Linked DNA regions of Homo sapiens: regions 2 and 3 are each linked to region 1. Evidence: promoter capture Hi-C in human tissues and cell types (Jung and others, 2019). All regions are on one chromosome and are shown on one strand. Each heading gives the region's core, a stretch centred on a gene start or on the middle of the fragment in contact. The rest is flanking DNA. Distances are from core to core; before and after follow the strand shown. Region 1 holds the start of CKAP5 (cytoskeleton associated protein 5). Region 2 holds the start of AMBRA1 (autophagy and beclin 1 regulator 1). Region 3 overlaps CSTPP1 (centriolar satellite-associated tubulin polyglutamylase complex regulator 1).

Region 1 (4,144 bases), core at 849-3,348:
ACTGCACTCTAGCCTGGGCGAAAGAGCAAGACTCTGTCTTAAAAAAAAAAAAAAAGGAAAAGAAAGTGAGTGTTGATGGAATTAAGATAAAAGTTTACAGGAGAGTTGGTATATTCAAACACACTTCATATGAGAGCATAAGAGCTCCACACCCTTCTCCCATACCTACAAGCCCTACGCCTCTCTTCATCTGTATGCTTTGTAGCATCCTTTACAATAAACCGTGAAGGTAAAAAACAAACAAACAAACAAACAAAAAACACCAAAAAAACAGGTGCTGCTAAAACTGAACTGTCAGTAGTAGAAGACTGCGATGGAATTACCACACCCACTGTTCATAATTCAAACATAATTCAAAACTGATCAAGACTTTAAAGTAATGGAGAATAAAGTAAAAGGCATGTTAATTGTTACGGAATACCTTTGCTTGCCATTGCCTCAGTGAACAGCCTTTTAAAAAATTTTTTTTCTTTTTTTTGAGACAGAGGGTCGCTCTGTCACCCAGGCTAGAGTGCAATGGCGGGATCTTGGCTCACTGCAACCTCTGTCTCCCGGGTTCAAATGATTCTCTTGCCTCGGCCTCCCGAGTAGCTAGGATTACAGGCGCCCGCCATCACGCCCAGCCATTTTTTGTATTTTTAGTAGAGAGAGAGAGAGAGAGACGGGGTTTCACCATGTTGGCCCGACTGGTCTCAAACTCCTGACCTCGTGATCCGCCCGCCTCGGCCTCCCAAAGTGTTGGGATTACAGGCGTCAGCCACCGCGCCCAGCCTAAAATCTTATTTAAAAATTTTTTTACATGAGTTTACCAACTAGATTTAACTTATGGTTGCAAAATAAATTGATTTCACCTTTATCTATATCATTAAATTTGGTAAAAGCATTACAGTTTGTCCAGTCACTTCAGAGAAGTCAAAGTCTTCTACAATTTCTTAAAGTTTCAAAAGATTCTTAGCTTAATTTATTGGCTCTTTAGGTCAAAAGAAGGACTTTTCAGGGTGATGAAAATGGAGGAAGGAGGAGCTCACCTTTCTAAAAATGAGTTTTCAATTACTATAATTATGCATAAGACAGGCAGCATTTCTGGGCCAAGATTTGATGCCTTGGTCCCATGAGAATTAAATTAGAGCCACGCATAAATTTGGGGCAAGTTCTGCAAAAACCACTTCAACCTCTATTGATGCTGAATAAAAAACTCATTGTTAAGATTCATCAACACGAATATATTTTCTAACACACACTAGCCACTCTGGCAACAACCCTTTCATCATTTTCTATCCAAGAAACACAACGGAATGCATTTCAATCCTGCTCAACAATTACCACGATTACAAGTAGAGGGGAGAGCTCAAAAGTAAGAATCTAGTTCACCGAGCCCGACCTTAAAGTAGCAAGGCCCAACCCACACTGCTGGCTATTGTATTGGTTCCCCAACACCTCCAGGGCTGGAAGGACACCAGAACGCTCCCGACACGTTGAGAGAGAGAAAGCCAGTCGTTAAGGGCGGGGTGGTGGATGATCGGAATCGTTCACATCGCAGCAAGCCAGCAGGGACACAGGTGTGCGGCCAGGCCCCGGTGCCGCTGTCCTTGCTCCAGGGCGACAAGGCCCTTCGCAACCACCACAGCCCTCGTAGGCGCTTACTTATTCATTCACTTGACAATTACGCGAGAGGCACTCTAGCAGGGCCGGCTCTCGGGGCCCCCGCCCTAGTCTTGGTAAATCGCTGCCGCCAGGCGCGGCCCTGCACCGCCCGCGCCCCGCGGACGCTGCCACCCGCGCCACGCTGCGGCGCGCTCTGGCCACCTGGAGCCCAACCCCGGCCTCCGCCGCACACGAGCGCCCACGCCCCCGGCCCTGCCCGCCGCAGGTCCCCCGGCCTCCGGCTCGCTTCGCCGCCTCAGACCTGCCGGGTTCGTGGGGCAAGTGGGGCGCGCGTCTGGAGACCTCCAGCCGCCCAGGATTCAGGGGCTCCTCTGCGCGCGCGATGCCTGCACTCGAGGGCCTCGCGGGTGGGGCAGGCCCACCGACCACTCACCTCAGCTGGGTCAGAACCAAGCGGCCTGCTCTAAGCCGTTTGAAACCGCTTGGGCCGCCGCACACCCCGCAGTGTCCTCGTTCTTTATTGGTCCTCGACGGACCGCCCATCGGACTTTTATTGGTCCATTTGAAAGGCCTGTGGGCACGCGCCGCCCGCAGCCTTAAAGGGGCCGCGCGCAGCCGTGTTTCCCTCTGGACCAGACGCCGCCTGCACGGGTGGGGACGCTGGTCGCTGCCGGGGGCAAGTCTGCCGACTCCAGAAAGAAAGGCGAAAGAATGTGTGTAGACCCGGGCATCCTTGGTCGTCAGCATGTTTGCTTTATTTAATTACAGATGTTCAGGCTGCTGTCAACACCCGACAATTTTTTTTGGTCATTTCATTCCCTAGAGATTGTGAAGCTAAGTGCTGTGAGGGAAACCAGAGGCAGCTGAGATGTCGTGGAAGTAACAGCGAATGAAGCCAGGATGCTGGATTCTGACCTTGGAACTGTTCTGAGTAAATCACTTTTCTCAGTAAATCTTCTGGAGTTGTTTCCTTATCTGTAAAATGGGATAACGATGTTTCCCTTACAATTTAATGGAGGAGTTAATATAACTAATAGAATGTCTGAGAAAAGCCTTTGTGAACTGTAACGCATCCTGCAAATGCTTAATATTCCCTTATAAAAACGAGAGGCTTGGTTAACATGATCTCCAGAATTTTAGCTTAGCTCTACATTCAGTGTTTCTGTGAATGAGTTCAGGTCCTTACTTCCAAGGAATTTGTAATCTACAGTGGTTGGAGGAATATAACATACAGACTAGTCACTAAAATTCAAAGCAGTGTAATAACTGTATAAATGAAAAGCTATAAATGCTTAGAGACAGGAGAAATTTGATGGGGGAGGATCTGTGAGGAAGATGAATTTTTAACCTAGGATTTAAAGAATGTGTAGATTCCCAACAGGCTAAAAGATGGAGAGAGGATGGATAAAAGTAAATGAAACAATTACATGTTTTTTCATTGTCAAGTTGGCAGAGATGAAAAAGTTCAACAGCCTTTGGTTGGTCAAGATTTGGAAAAACAGGCTGGGTGCAATGGCTTATGCCTGTAATCCTAGCGCTTTGGGAGGCCGAGGCAGGAGGATTGCTTGAGGCCAGGAGTTCAAGACCAACCTGGGTCTTGCTATCAAGACCCCATCTCTGTTTTTAAAAATATAAAGAGATTTGGAAAAATGGACACTCAAAGTCAATATTGGTAAGAGTATAATTGGTACAAACCTTTAGGAGGACAATTTGACAGTTACTAAAATGTACATAATCTAGTTCTGGCCCAGTAATCCACTATGAGGAATTTATCGTACAGATCTGTGCAAGTATGCAAAGAAAAATGTACAAGGATGTTTACTGCAATACTGCTTTTTTTTTTTTTTTTTTTGAGACAGTCTCGCTCTGTCGCCCAGGCTGGAGTGCAGTGGCGCAATCTCAGCTCACTGCAACCTCCGCCTCCCGTGTTCAAGCGATTCTCCTGCCTCAGCCTCCTGAGTAGCTGGGACTACAGGCACGTGCCATCACACCTGGCTAATTTTTTGTAGTTTTAGTAGAGACGGAGTTGCACTGTGTTAGCCAGGCTGGTCTTGATCTGCTGACCTCGTGATCCTCCCGCCTGGGCCTCCCAAAGTGCTGGGATTACAGGCGTGAGCCACTGCACCCGGCTTTTTTTTTTTTTTTTTCTGACAGAGTCTCTCTCATGTCACCCGGGCTGTAGTGCAATGGCGTGATCTTGGCTCACTGCAACCTCCATCTCCCGGGTTCAAGCAATTCTCCTGCCTCAGGCTCCCAAGTAGCTGGGATTACAGGCACCTGCCACCACGCCCGGCTAATTATTTTTTATTGTATTTTTAACAGAGATGGGGTTTCACCATGTTGGTCAAGCTGGTTTCAAACTCCTGACTTCAGGTCATCCACCTGCCTCAGCCTCCCAAAGTGCCGAGATTACAGGCGTGAGCCACTGTGCCCGGCCCTTTTTTTTTTTTCTTTTTTTTTCTTTTGAGATGAAGTCTCGCTCTCTCGCCCAGGCTGGAGTGCGATGGCACCATCTCAGCTCACTGCAACCTCCACCTCC
Region 2 (4,144 bases), core at 520-3,019, 250 kb before region 1:
CAAGAATGAAGTGACACAAATTAGGATCATGGTACTGAATCCGATGAAAATAACAGACTTAGTCCCCAGACTTTCCAAGCTGGGAAGGAAAAGGGAACCACAAAGGAGTTCCCAAAGCGTTAACCTTTCATTTAAATATCTCAATATTTGAATGATTTCTACACACAGCCTTTTTTAGCTTTTGTATGTGCAGTGACCAAACTACTAATCAAATACAACAAAACTGGGCGGGCGCGGTGGATGCCTGTAATTCCAGCACTTTGAGAGGCCGACGTGGACGAATCACTTGAGGCCAGGAGTTCAAGACCAGCCTGGCCAACATGATGAAACCCCGTCTTTACTACAAATACAAAAATTAGCCGAGTGTGGTGGCGCGCGCCGGTACTTCCAGCTACTCGGGAGTCTGAGGCAGGGGAATCGCTTGAACCCGGGAGGCAGAGGTTGCAGTGAGCCAAGATCGCGCCACTGCACTCCAGTTTGGGCGACAGAGCTAGCCTGTCTTAAAAAAAAAAAAGAAAAAAGAGAGACAGACTCCTTGGGTTTCCATTGGATACTCCCCAGAAAGCAGACCCTCACAGGACAAGCGTTTGCCTTCAAAGTCTTGACCATCCTCTACTAGACTCTAACCTCTAACCACAAACACCATAGTTATAAGATTTCCAAAGAGGCTGGGGAGAAGGAGGATAAATCAACCAGGAAACAATGTAGACAACAAGGTTATCAGGAAACAAAGTAGACAACAAGGTTATCAGGAAACAAAGTAGACAACAAGGTTATCAAGAAACAAAAAGAAACTGTCATTGCTACACTAGTTAAAATGATACAGACTTTGAAAAGCAAAACAGCCAAGAAACCACATGGTTCCTTTACTTCTGAAGCCTCTTGTGACAGGATCTATATTCCTAACAGTCTATATTCCTAGGAAAATTGGGATCACAGACGATCAAACAATAACTCACTGTTTTCATAACTTGACTGGTAAGTGGGGGGAAGGGAATTGGTAAACGACAAAAAGTGACTTACAGTGAATTTAATGATCTGTTGGGGATATGTGGGGAAGTCACGTCCCAGACATCAGCCTCAGTTTACCCACCCAGAAAAAGGCGAGAACATAACACTTCGCTCAGAAGAGCCAGAGGGCCTTGTTCCATAAGCCTCCACCTACTCAAAGGTCCCTTCAAAGGCTGGACTCAGTAGGGGTCCCCAGTGCAATTGAGGCATGACACCCGGAGACTTCGGGGTGGGGGGAAAAGGAGAAAGGAAGGAGGGTCAAAGTGCGCAAAGCTCTATCGGTTCCTGGAAAGCCATTTTCGCCACACACTGGGGGTGCCCTAGACCCAACATCTCCTCCCTAAAGAACCACACCGGGAAGCCCCAGCAACTCTCCCTCCTTTCGGCTTCTCCCTCGGTTCCGGGCTGCCCCTCCGGCCGCGCCCCTCAACGCAGTCCGGTAGCCCCTCCTCTGGCAGTGTCACGGCGGCCGGCCAGCCTGCCCACCCGCCGGCGCCAAGGTCTTCTCAACCCCGCGGCGGAAGGATGCCGGGCTGGGCCTCCCAGGCTCCTCCTGGGCCTACCTGCAAGGCAGACGGGAGCTCGGTTTGCAGTCCAGCGAACGGGCTGAGCCACAGGGAAAAAGAAAGAGGAGACAGGAATAAAGGAAGGGGTCCGTTCTACCGACCGGCAGGAGAAGGCGGCTTGAGCGCGGGGCCTCGCGGACAACTCAGCCCTCGACCCGGCGCCGCCGCCGCTCAGGAGACATCAAGCAAGAAGACGGCGCAAAAGATCACCGAATACAAGAACGCCCCAGACATCAAAGGAGGAACGCCCAAGCAATCGTTCAAGGAACCACAGCCGAGCGCCGAAAAACAGCTCAACTCCTACTCAAGGTCCGGCTCCTGTCTGAGGCGTAAATAAACAAACCCAGATCATAAGCCACGGGTTAAAAAAGAGCCTGCACTTCTGCCATTTTCTGTGGGTCGCCGGCTGTTAAAGTTCTTTAGAGAACTGGAGTTTCTCGTGAATGTGTTGAAGATCAAATCATAGCGCAATAACACTTGTTGTGTAACTATAGTCCCCCAACTGTTCTATGGACTCCCAACACTCTTTATCCCAATTGAGCAAATTAGTTAACCTCATTTGACCCTTAGTTTCCTAACAGAGCAGTGAGGGGAATTAAAAATCATAGAGACAGAAAACGAGAGAGAATTCAAGCTGAGGAACAAAATGAACAGTCTACGTAAAAGCTCCAGTTTAGTCCCCACAAAGCATGACCAAGAGAAGCTGGGAAAACCCAGAATTATGTAGCCTGACCTTAAGGCAGGGGGAAAAAAAGCACACGGATTGCTTTTCTCTTTTATTTTCTTCCAAAGGCCTAGAGCCACAGGTGTGCTTCTTACATAATAAGCAAAAGTCTCTTTGGGTTCAGAACCTGATAAAGTGTTGACATTTTCATCACCACAACAATGGCTTTTTTCTGTAGTCTCTTAGTTGATAAATGAATATGCTCAGCACAAATATGGATTAATATGTACATCCTAGATGTGATTCAATAAATCACAAAGATCACTGCAAGTATGGTTACCAATTGTGAGCAATCATAGTCTACCTTACCTGCTCCTAGGGAGGTTTACACCCTTCCCCACTACTCAGAGAGGAAGGGTGTAAAAAGGAAACAAGATAGTCCCAGTTTGTCGGGCGCAGCGGCTCACGTCCATAATTCCAGCACTTTAGGAGACGAGGCTGGTGGATTGCTTTGAGCCCTGGAGTTCAAGACCAGCCTGGGCAACATGGTGAGACTCCAGTCTCTATAAAAAAAAAATAAATAAATACAAAAAGTTAGCCGGGCCTGGTGGCTCCCGCCTGTAGGCCCAGCTACTCGGGAAGCTAAGATGAAAGGATATCCTGAGCCCGGGAGGTGGAGGCTGCGATGAGCCATGATCACACCATTGCACTCCAGCCTGATCTATGGAGCAAGACCCTATCTTAAATTTTTTTTTTTTTAAATGCCGGGCGCAGTGGCTCACGCCTGTAAGCCCAGGACTTTGGGAGGCCGAGGCAGGTGGATCACGAGGTCAGGAGTTTGAGACCAGCCTGGTCAAGATGGTGAAACCCCGTCTCTACTAAAAATACAAAAATTAGCCGGTCGTGGTGGCGGGTGCCTGTTATCCCAGCTTTTCGGGAGGCTGAGGCAGGAGAATCGCTTGAACCCAGGAGGCGGAGGTTGCAGTGAGCAGAGATCGTGCCACTGCACTCCAGCCTGGGCGACACAGCAAGACTCCGTCTAAAAAAAAAAAAAAAAAAAAAAAAAAAAAAAAAAAAAAAAAAAAAAAAGTCCCAGCCTTTGAAGACTTTAATTAAACTCAAAGAGCACATCCTTACAGTATTAGCCTTTTTTAAATAATGTATTGGCACTTTACAAAAATCTCCTCTAAGTCTTTGAAAATACTGCCCAGGCCGGGCGCGGTGGCTCACGCCTGTAATCCCAGCACTTTGGGAGGCCGAGGCGGGCGGTTCATGAGGTCAGGAGATTGAGACCATCCTGGCTAATGCGGTGAACCCCGTCTCTACTAAAAATACAAAAAATTAGCCAAGCGTGGTGGCAGGAGCCTGTAGTCCCAGCTACTCGGGACTACAAAAAAAAAAAAAAAGAAAGAAAGAAAACTCTCCTTCTTGGAGAGGCTTGTGGAGCATAGCTATAGCCCTCATTCAAATTTTACTCAGATAACTACATTGTTTTTGTTTCTTTGTTTTTTGAGACGGACTCTCGCTCTGTCGCCCAGGCTGGAGTGCAGTGGAGCGATCTTGGCTCACTGCAACCTCTGGCTCCTGTGTTCACGCCATTCTCCCGCCTCAGCCTCCCGAGTAGCTGGGACTACATGCGCCCGCCACCACGCCCGGCTTTTTTTTTTTTTGAGGATTCTCGCTCTGTCACCCAGGCTGGAGTGCAGTGGCATGATCTCGACTCACTGCAAGCTCCGCCTCCCGGGTTCACGCCATTCTCCCGCCTCAGCCTCCCGAGTAGCTGGGACTACAGGCGTCCGCCACCACGCCCAGTTAATTTTTTGTATTTTTAGTAGGGATGGGGTTTCACCGTGGTCTCGATCTTCTGACCTTGTGATCCGCCCGCCTCGGCCTCCCAAAGTGC
Region 3 (4,144 bases), core at 656-3,155, 160 kb after region 1:
ACATTGGAAAATAATGATGAGAGAAAAACAGGATGAAATCTGAGAATTTGTATCAGAATTGGGAACCATTCTTCACAGGCTAAATTGATAGTTCCAACACTATGGCATCAGGGAGCTTGACTTCCACATACTAATATAGAAAAGAATAATATTCTGTGGTCTTGGTTGGTGGGCCCAGGAGAGCTCGCTTTTATGATCAAGTGTCTTGTTTTCGTTTTTTAAAGGATGATTTTAGTTTTTTGGTGAAGTTTTTATGATGACTGTTTTGGTTGCAAGGGAAAGAAGTACACAGACTACCTTTGGTTTATTTTAAGGATACGTGAGAATATGCAGCATTCATTTGTGAATTATTCATTCACAAATTACTTTTGGGCACCTACTCTGTGCCTGTGTGTACTATGCAATGGGAATAGAGCAGTGAGCAAGACAAATAAGGTACCTATCTTTATGAACCTAGTGTTTTAATGAGGGTAATAATCAATAAACAAGCAAACTGATGGGGATGAGAATAGCTAATAGTTAATAAGCACTGTGTGCTAGGCACTGTTCTAAGCATATAATATCCATTATTTTATTTAATCTTCACAGTTCTATATAAACAGGGTATTAGTATTATCCTCATTTTACTCATAAGGAAATTCAGGCTATAAAAGTAACATTCTCATGGTTACATAGCTGGTAACTGTAACAAGACAAATAACAAGAAAACAGCCAGAGTAAGGTAATATATAGTATGGACAGGGAAGTCCTCTTGGAAGAGATGACGATTGAGAGCTCATCCCATCAGAGAGCCAATAACTTAGCTCAGAGGGTGATGCACCTTTTCTTTGTCCACCTTGATTATCTAAGTAAGCTTCCTGTGTCCAAAAATGATCATTTGATTGATTTTATTTGTTGCTACTGAGAATGGAGTACCCTTACTAGGCAGTGTTCTTAGGACCCCCTCATGGGTAACTGGCCTCCCTCATGCTCTGCTCCTATTTAACCAGTGAAAGTAAATAAAATAATTCATCATCAAAAGTATTTGTGTTCTACACTACATAGTATAAATATGGAGATGGAAATCTTTGTCAGTTTTTAGAAAAGGAGCATTAATAATTTCATTTTGATACATGTTAATCATCAGAATTAATTTTGATTCAAATAAATCCATAAAATATGAACTTCATTAATTCATCCTTGGAGAAAAAAAGAGATTCCAATAGTGCATACCCGTTTTTTTTTTCTTTTTTCTTTTCTTTTACTTTAAGTTCTGGGATACATGTGTAGAACGTGCAGGTTTGTTACATAGGTAATAGTGCATATTCCTAAATAACTTAAAACGTAACTCTAATGAAAACAATCCATGATTATAAAATATGTATCATTTCTTGTTATTTTTTTTTTCAGACAGGTGCTTTAAGCCCTATGAAAAGATGACCCACTTCTTTCCTACATAATCTATAACAATCAGGGCATAAACATTCATTCTAAAGGTGACAGATTTTTTAAGGATCATTCACCATCTAGAGTTTAAATAATGTTGTTTGGGGTTCTTCTTGTGTCCATGGTAACAGAGGAGCAGGTGTGAGGCAACAAGAAGCACATCAGAACAAACCAAGACTTCGCTGATTTCCAGCTTGTAGCTCTGAATGAGAGATGGACTTGAGACTTCTTTGGGCCATTTCTGCTCATGTTTTCTCTACTTATTTACGTTAAATTGAGCCAAAATGTGGTGTGGTAAAGTAATGGTGACTAATCCTATTATAGACTTCTTCAAAAGGGGTAATGCTTCCCCCTTTACCCACCCCCTCCCCTGACTTTTTTCCATAGTTCAGTTCTTAGCTGTTAAACATTGTAACAGAAAATTACCCGTTTCTCATTGTCAGCATCTGGTTTCCCACAGACTCAGATAATTGTCAGGAAGAGATTTGCCTTCAGTTAAAGCAACCCTATCCCCACTGTTACTAGGCCAGGCACCTCTGTTAGACCATCATAGAACCAAATCTATAGAGGATTCTTTCTGGCTCTTTTCTGTATTACTAGAGGTATGCTATAGCAAAAAGACTACAGGGAGCCATGGTGGTGAGTTAAGAGTCAAAATCTGTTTTGAAACTTAAAAATCCAGGGTCATTGAGGATGCAAGAAGTTGCCTGTTTTTGTAGAATCCATCTCACTTCTTCAGTCCCTTTGTATTATGGTTACAGGAAACTATCCAGCAGCACTTGACCTGGTAATGGAGGAAGCTATTTCACAGCCCACTGGTCCCTTGACTCGTTTAGAAGTCAGAGTCAAAGGTTACAGAAGTAATAATTGGGCCCAGATTCTCCCTGTCAGGAAAGACCTTGTTCCCCCCACCCCACCCCCTGCCTTCTACAAGTTAAGAGAAACTTATCTGTTATAAAACCATTCAATAAGAGGAAATGAAGAAACACCATCCTTGGCTGAAGTGTTCTCAAGCCCCAATGATACTATTTCTGTTTTCATGGGAGCTGCTTTTGCAGCTAGCTAGTATAAAATTTAGGTCTGATTTTTTACATTAAAATATCTCCCCTTAGATAAATAACTTGATTTATTTCAATCTATAAATAATATGAAGGATCTTTATTTGGTCCAAGCCCTGATATTCCTTCACACCACCACTCTGATAATTCCCTGAATACTTGTCTGGCAATCAAGTACACTCACACGAGTCTTAATTAACAAGTGTTATGCCATTAGCAATGTAAAGTCAGTCATCAAAAGTTAAGAAACTAGGCCAGATTATAGGCTCACACCTATAATCCCAGCACTTTGGGAAGCCAAGGTGGGAAAATCACTTGAGGCCAGGAGTTTGAGGCCATCCTGGGCAACACAATGAGACCCCTGTCTCTACAAGAAGAATAAGAAGTTTAAAAAGCTTTACTTCACCAGCAACAGAACAATTTAAAATTTTCAGTGCTTTTAATTTCTTCCATAATTTGCTCAGAACTCTAGCAGATCAATCTGTGGTGCCATTGGCACAGGCTTGGCACTGGAGTAGGAAAGAATGACACAATTTGGCACCTTTAACCAGAAGATCTTTAATGAGCTGGCGTGGGGGTGGAGGGGACAGAGAGGAAGGAAGGACAGTTAGGATTTTGGCAGTAACACAAAGGTTCTTCTTCCCTGAGAAAAGTGAAATGAAAGTCAAATGAAGCTTCACTCTGCTTTTAGAATTTGCTAAGATGTTTGTCTGTCTCTCAGCTCCCGGCCCCCTTGCAGGTGCATCATTATAGTCAGTGACTTCTCCAAAAAACAAATTGTCTCTCAGGATCCTTCAGGAGGGGTCATATCTAACCAATTTCTTGTCTGAGGACATAATTGTGATTCCCTTCTTCAACTATCAGATGCAATGCTACCAGCACTGCAGAAACTGTCTTATCAGAAAGTGGCACAAATGTGTACATTTCTTCTAGGTCACAGTTCTAGTATTGCTGAGTTCTGGGGCTGCAACAATAGATAATACTACAATGAGAGATGTTTGGGAAAAGCATTGTTTCCTGGGTGGCCGTAGAAGCAGACTTGAAATCATCCCTTTGTCATTAAATAATATCAACAACAAATGTCTTTGTTGATGTCATTGTATTGTAATTTTCTAGGTCTAGATTATTGCTAGGGATGATAATACCTATCTTCTAGGGTTGTTATGCAAATCACATGAAATTACACATGCAAGATGTCTGGCTATATATAATTCATCTTCATTGTGTGTTGTTCTCCTTAAGCTCCACTTTTCTGGGATTTTTGTATCTCTGTGGATCTGGATAGTCTTCCTTTTCTCTCTCTTTAAATGGCATCAGAGTTGAAGATCTTGAGGACTTTTTAGTCTCTCTTTTGTTTTTTGTTGTTGTTGTTGTTACTGGTTTGTTTTTGTTTTTGTTTTTTTGTTTTTGTTTTTTTTTTTTGAGATAGTGTCTCACTCTGTCACCCAGGCTGGAGTTGTAGCACAAACATGGCTCATTGCAGCCTTAACCTGGGCTCAAGCAATCCTCCTGCCTCAGCTTCCCATGTAGCCATGACCACAGGTGCGTGCCACCATACCCAGCTAACTTTTTTTTTTCTTTTTTATAGAGACGGGTCTCATTTTATTGCTCAAACTGGTCTTGAACTCCTGGGCTCATGTTATGCTCCTGCCTCAGCCTCC

What was found. The method cuts DNA at HindIII sites, captures the fragments that hold promoters and counts their contacts. A contact is called where the count stands out against the background at its distance.
Region 2: the fragment with the promoter of AMBRA1 here is called in contact with the fragment with the promoter of CKAP5 in region 1 in 1 of the 25 tissues and cell types used here (liver).
Region 3: a contact is called between a fragment that was not itself captured here and the fragment with the promoter of CKAP5 in region 1, in 1 of the 25 tissues and cell types used here (mesenchymal stem cells).

What each region holds. Positions count from the first base shown.
Region 1 is chr11:46,844,182-46,848,325 of GRCh38, forward strand. CKAP5 (cytoskeleton associated protein 5) reads right to left here and starts at 2,099. Exons shown (of 44, transcript NM_001008938.4): 1 at 2,039-2,099. It overlaps LRP4-AS1 (LRP4 antisense RNA 1), which reads left to right and starts at 2,230. Exons shown (of 3, transcript NR_038909.1): 1 at 2,230-2,318; 2 at 2,429-2,536. RefSeq lists enhancers at 1-283, 1,342-1,919, 2,374-2,493 and silencers at 1,754-1,903, 2,084-2,163. The HindIII fragment of the contact is 16,643 bases long and covers 1-4,144 here.
Region 2 is chr11:46,592,254-46,596,397 of GRCh38, forward strand. AMBRA1 (autophagy and beclin 1 regulator 1) reads right to left here and starts at 1,770. Exons shown (of 18, transcript NM_001387011.1): 1 at 1,575-1,770. RefSeq lists enhancers at 1,522-2,022, 1,525-1,954. The HindIII fragment of the contact is 25,136 bases long and covers 1-4,144 here.
Region 3 is chr11:47,000,294-47,004,437 of GRCh38, forward strand. The region is part of intron 2 of CSTPP1 (centriolar satellite-associated tubulin polyglutamylase complex regulator 1); the gene reads left to right. It overlaps LOC124902670 (a long non-coding RNA gene), which reads left to right. Exons shown (of 2, transcript XR_007062665.1): 1 at 1-4,144. Among named protein-coding and RNA genes, the nearest start is that of CSTPP1, 66 kb to the left of the region's middle. The HindIII fragment of the contact is 3,670 bases long and covers 71-3,740 here.